Regions from separate parts of the Homo sapiens genome. Here region 1 is linked to region 2. The links are contacts of gene promoters, found by promoter capture Hi-C in human tissues and cell types (Jung and others, 2019). All regions are on one chromosome and are shown on one strand. Each heading gives the region's core, a stretch centred on a gene start or on the middle of the fragment in contact. The rest is flanking DNA. Distances are from core to core; before and after follow the strand shown. Region 1 overlaps AFG2A (AAA ATPase AFG2A). Region 2 holds the start of SPRY1 (sprouty RTK signaling antagonist 1).

Evidence for each region. The method cuts DNA at HindIII sites, captures the fragments that hold promoters and counts their contacts. A contact is called where the count stands out against the background at its distance.
Region 1: a fragment that was not itself captured here is called in contact with the fragment with the promoter of SPRY1 in region 2 in 1 of the 25 tissues and cell types used here (aorta).

What each region holds. Positions count from the first base shown.
Region 1 is chr4:123,249,596-123,252,295 of GRCh38, forward strand. The region is part of intron 14 of AFG2A (AAA ATPase AFG2A); the gene reads left to right. Among named protein-coding and RNA genes, the nearest start is that of SPRY1, 150 kb to the right of the region's middle. The HindIII fragment of the contact is 5,744 bases long and covers 1-2,700 here.
Region 2 is chr4:123,395,376-123,398,264 of GRCh38, forward strand. It overlaps SPRY1 (sprouty RTK signaling antagonist 1), which reads left to right and starts at 1,420. Exons shown (of 3, transcript NM_001258038.2): 1 at 1,420-1,557; 2 at 2,236-2,481. RefSeq lists a silencer at 2,855-2,889. The HindIII fragment of the contact is 12,155 bases long and covers 1-2,889 here.

The sequences.
Region 1 (2,700 bases), core at 133-2,632, 150 kb before region 2:
TTATGATATTCTAGACAAATGATTGTGTTGGCTTGATATCACTGAGTAAACATTTATTGGGTGCCTTATATGTGCCATAGCTGAGCTTACAGTGTTGAATAAAATGAATATGATTCCTGCCATTACATACAGTCTACAATCTGTTGGGAAAGACAGACAGTAAACAAACACACAAATACACAATAAAGAAGAATGGGTAGAAGTGACAGGTTTAAGAGAGATTTAAGTAGTGTTAGCCAGGTCTATGCATTAGTTGGATTTAGAGGAAGAAATAGATACCTAGAATAAATCCAAGGTTTCTTTGAGATAATTCAGAGCCGTTACCAAAGATCCACCTTTCTCCCTGGTTTCTGGAACTATTCTCTCCATGAATCATGATTCATTGATATGTTTTTATTAAAGTATAAAGGCTCAGTGCTGCTTTCCTTTCCTAGAGGAAGGCACTCCCTATATACACATACACACCCTTGTTGATTATTTTAAATGAATGGGAGCCAATGGGACCTGATTTTTCAAGGTGTCTATTTTAATACTTTTGTCTGAACAAGTATTTCTATGTTAATGAAATTAGATTTGAGCATTTGATAGAACATGAAACTATAAGTGTTGAATTTCAGAATTTATAAAAAAGAAAAGGCAGCCTTATAATTGTGGTATAAGGTTTGATAGTTAAGACTCCTTCATGTGAAATACCAGATGTTTTGAGTCCTTGATATAAAGGTCAGAAGAAAAGAAGGATATTGGTTTCATAATAAACTAACATGTTTACAGTAATGACTATGCAGTGTAAGCTGTGGATATTTTGTTATATAAGAATGGCAGGGGGTCCTAGAACTGGGGGCTGGAAGGCCCATTTAAAAGGTCATCCAATACGATAATTTTTAGTCTGGAGCACACAAGCAGAGTTCAGGTGAACTCCCTGGAATTATTTGCAAAATTGGGAGTATTTTTTGTATGTATAGTTTGAGGGGAATTTCTGTCAAATGCACATAGGCACCTGTAATTAAAGAGCCGCCTTCATTTTCACACATGAGGAAACTGAGGCTGTTACAGATGTAGAGACTTGCCCAAGGTCTTGAATAACTTCTCAGAAAGGGAGTTTGTTCTATGATTTGTGTTTTTTAATAAAGTTTTAATGGACAGACCACGATATCCAACATGGCCTTGGAGCCATAGGGTTCAGAATATTAGAAAGCCTTGGCTTCTTTTTTCATTGAGTTGTCATATAGTGATTTTAATAATAATAGAACATGCTATTATTCAGAATACATTCTTCCACCCTAATATCCCAAAACAGTATTTTTAAAGAAATTCTAGGAAGGGTGTTTACTCATTCAGAGTTCTACAGGAAGGAAGGCTCTTTCCTACTATTTTTTAAGCATAACTTTCACTGACAAGACCAGGCCAGAAAAAGCCTAGCTGGCTGTTGGCCCAGACAATGTTATAATAATCATTGAAGTATACTCAACCTGCACTGCCTGAGGATAGCTACAGCTAAAAAAAATAAATAAATAAGCACACACAGATGTATGCTGAGTGTTCCAGTGACTTAGCTGACATGTATGCTGTATATCCTTTGCTGTGTTCTTTCAACTATTAGAAAGGAAATTTTAAAATAGCCTAGAATTTATTATTCCAATAGGGTGAAAAGGACAACTTCAACTTTAAAAAAATAACCAAGCTCTCCAAGGCTGTATCCCCAGCAAGTAAATCAATCTGGCATATAGTAGATGCTTAATAATTTTTTTGATGAGAGAATTGTTGAAGTTTGTTAGTTATATTTCAGAAAGAGAATTTTGTTTGTTCATCAATAATGAGTATCATGTAGTGTCAAAATAGTAAAATTAAAAAGGACTGCTTCAACATTTAGAAACCCCAGATTTCAGCGCAGTTTCTGTAAGTTATTGTACGACCTTGGGCCTCATTTTCTTTGTCTTAATAAGGATATAATAATATCTAATTCCCAAAATTTGGGGGAATATTAAATGAGCTACAGTATGTGAAAGATGCTTCATAGATCCTTAAGTGCTATATAAATATTAATGTTATTTGTCTTAGATAACATTTTCAATTTTTTAAATATGTATTTACTGAAATCATCTTTATTTCCTAAGTCCTGTATTTGTTTTAGGTAGAAAGAAGTGATTTCCATGATTGAAATGGAGTTTTGAATTCTTTGATAAAATACATTTTAAGGTGTACAGAATTGTCTGCAAAGAATTAAAACACTCATTTTTAAGCAAGGGAAATATATTTATTTTATGATTTTCCTAATTGAATTTTTGCCAGCTAATTTGTACGTAAGTTAAGGATTGATTGATATATATTTGATAGACAATCACCCTCTTCTAGGTATTATAACATATACAAAAAGTATACAACAGCATTTTCCAAAGTGGAAAAGAAATATTAGTTTTTGAGATGTTCCATGATTAGAGTTTGGGAATTTAAAATAGAATTTTTACATACTACCATAGGTTTCTCCTAGATATTTTTATTACCCATTAATATAATTTCCAAAAATTCCTTCATATAGAAACCTATACAAACCTTTTATTTTGTTTCTACACAGTGTTATCCAAATTTATTTAACAAGAAAACCCTTTTTTCCATTACATTTGTTAACATTCACTCGAGTATTTTATAAAGCACTGGTATGAGATATGATGATATGACCCCATGGATTTGAACAGTCTGTTT
Region 2 (2,889 bases), core at 170-2,669:
AATTTCATTACATCCCCAAATCTAATGAGATCTATGAAAAAAATACAATGAAATCAATTTTATTCTTTTAAATAGCCTATTTTAATACAATTCATAATATTAAGAGTGAATATGTAGCTTTTTGGCTTGATTCTTATTCTATGCTATTTTCTAATGATGCTTTTTTATTGTTATTCATGTTCTTAACAATGCTCTGTGTTCTTCAGAGGCAATTCCAAACACAACTTTAATTTTTGAAAGTGCTCAGACATTTGAAAGTCCTGTGTGTGTGCGTGTGTGTTATGTATGTATATATTTATAGTTTCAACAGAACCACTTGCTATTGTAAATGAGACTAAAAATGTACTTTGAACTAAAAATTTCCATACTTATATGTTTATATGATTTAGATTCTAGAGTTTTGTTATTGTTTGCTTTGTTTTGCCAGACTTTAAGCTACTCCTGATATATAGTACCTGGAAAAATATTTCCTTTCCACTAAGTTTTTGGTCTTTAGGTGGCTTTTAAAAGTTTCTACGGAACCTTCAATTCCACAAAAAGTTATCCTCACTGCAGCATGAAAAGGCACAACTTTGATAATAAATGCCTAAAATCCCATAGTTTGTAAGAAAGTAGAAATCAAGTTTCCTACTTAAAGTGTTTTTTTTCCAGTCATATCAGCTATTACTAAGAATTATAAAACTTCTTGATAAATTTTTTCTATTCTAATTAATTGACTTTTAGCTAATTAAAAAATATACGGGTTTGTATTTTTTGCAAAATTATACAACTATATTACAAAATTGAAAGAATTTGGTTTTTTCTCCATGTGCTTGATTTTTGGGAAATCATATAACAAGCCAAGGTAAAGCAATTATTTAAAAAACCCACAGCAGAAAATTTCACCTTTATTACATATGCTTATATTACATTTGCAGTAAGGAGTGCCACCTTTTGAACTTTAGGTTTCACATATTCTGAACTTTGTTGTAAATAGGAACTGTAATGTTATATAATCATCTTTTTGTGTCAATATACGTTTTCCCTCTAGTTGGTCAGAAGTGATGGCTTGGCATACAACTTTTTTCATTTTCTTTTATTCTTCACAATTCTTTTCTAATTCAACTTAAGAGTAGAGTCCACCAATCCTTTTAATTGAGATCGACAACTGAAGATTGCTAACTAAATCCGAATGTATTCCTCTATGACAAACTGCATTTGCAGAATTTTTAGAGGCACTCCCGAAGTTTTAAGAGGATGTTTATTACACGAGTCTGTAGGGCAACATTTCCAAGTTGGTACACATAAACGAAAGAGGAAACGATAGTTAAGGAAATCCTGTTCCAGGTTTTCGGGCAGCCCGAGTGATTGACACATGATATCACCGGAGGCGTGTCCTGGAGTGGAGGTGGAGGTGGAGGCAAGGAGCTGAAATTCTGCGTAGCCGGAGTGAGACCGCTCTGCAAACCACTGCGTGCTTTGCAGAGTGATTATCAGCACAGTTCCCTGCCCTGGATAAGGAACAGCTACAGTCGCTGTTAAATGTGCCTGAAAAGCAATTTGCAATCTTTGCATTAGGTAAGTACCGTTTCCTTCCGTAGACATTTTAGGAAAGATAAGGTGAGAAATGTTGACTTTTGCAAGGAACTGAACATTTATTTATTTGAACTTGCTTTCCAGCTAAGGTTACTGGTTGCATTTCAAAACACCGGTAGCATTCCCACTGCTAAAACTAATGCTCTTAAAGTAAATGCTACCGCTAAAAGAAAAAGCAGGGTCCCTTTCACCTTTCCTTAACCGAACAGTAGACGTTTAAAGTCTGAAACGATCGAATTTGTGAAACACAGAGCCGTTAATGCCTTTATGCGAAGAGGGGCTAGCACTCGGTGTGTGGACCAAATGCGTGTTTGTTTAGGCATTGTTGGCGACCGAATCCCGAGTGAAGCATTGGTTTAAAACCTGAATTTCCCGTCTCTGTGTATTGATTCCTAACGCGCAGAGGCGTTGCTTGAACGTTGTTTGAACTCCTAGGCATTCCAGGGGGCAAAAGCACCTCGGCAAAAACGTGCAGGACTGCATGTTACTTTGGTTCGCGGCTGACACGCCGACTGTGCGCCGGCCTGTCAATCACCGGGAGCAGCAACAGGGAGCACATGGCAACGGGCTGCGGGCGAGCTGGCCAGCGGCCCGCCCGGGGTCCCAGCCCTTCGAAGAAAGGGACATTCACGAGCTTCTATCTCTAATTCTCTGTCGCAGGCATTTCGGCCGTGGAACCCCAGGCTCGGAGGACTGGGTGTGAGCGCTGCCCGGGAGAGGCTGACCTGCCGGGACCGGAGTGCCCGGGGACGCTGTGCCCCCACTTGCCCAACGTGCGGAATCGGCTAAGCGCGTCGGCCTGCGCGGGGCACAAGGGACGACGCCCGCCTTTCTCTCTCCGAGAAGGATCCCCAAACCTCACTCTCTTCACTCCTCCCCGCTAAAAAAAAAAAAAAAAAGAAAAGGGTAAAAAAATCCCCCTCCCCCTCCCGGCCGCGGCAGCCTCTGCCTGGCAGGCGCGTGCTCCGAGGTTTCGCCGGGGTACTGCGCGGCTCCGTGACCCACCCGCCGACGGCGGTTCGGGCCCCGACCCGGGCGCTGCGGAGTCTCGAACGCCCGTGACGTGGATTTTTCGCTCGTCAGGAAGCCGCCATCCCTTCCTTCGTTCCTTGCGAGGAGCGACTAGAACCCGAGTTCTCTGAGCACACCGTGCCGTCAGCTGGCCCGTCACGCACTCGACTCCGCCACTCCCCTACTTGTTTTTCTGAGACTTGGGAAGCCTTCCTGAAAGGATTTGTAAAAACTGGTTCTTGGAAAGGGGCTGCAGAAGACCTCCCGAGGTGGATGTTACTGAGCCGCCCGGCGAGCACCAGC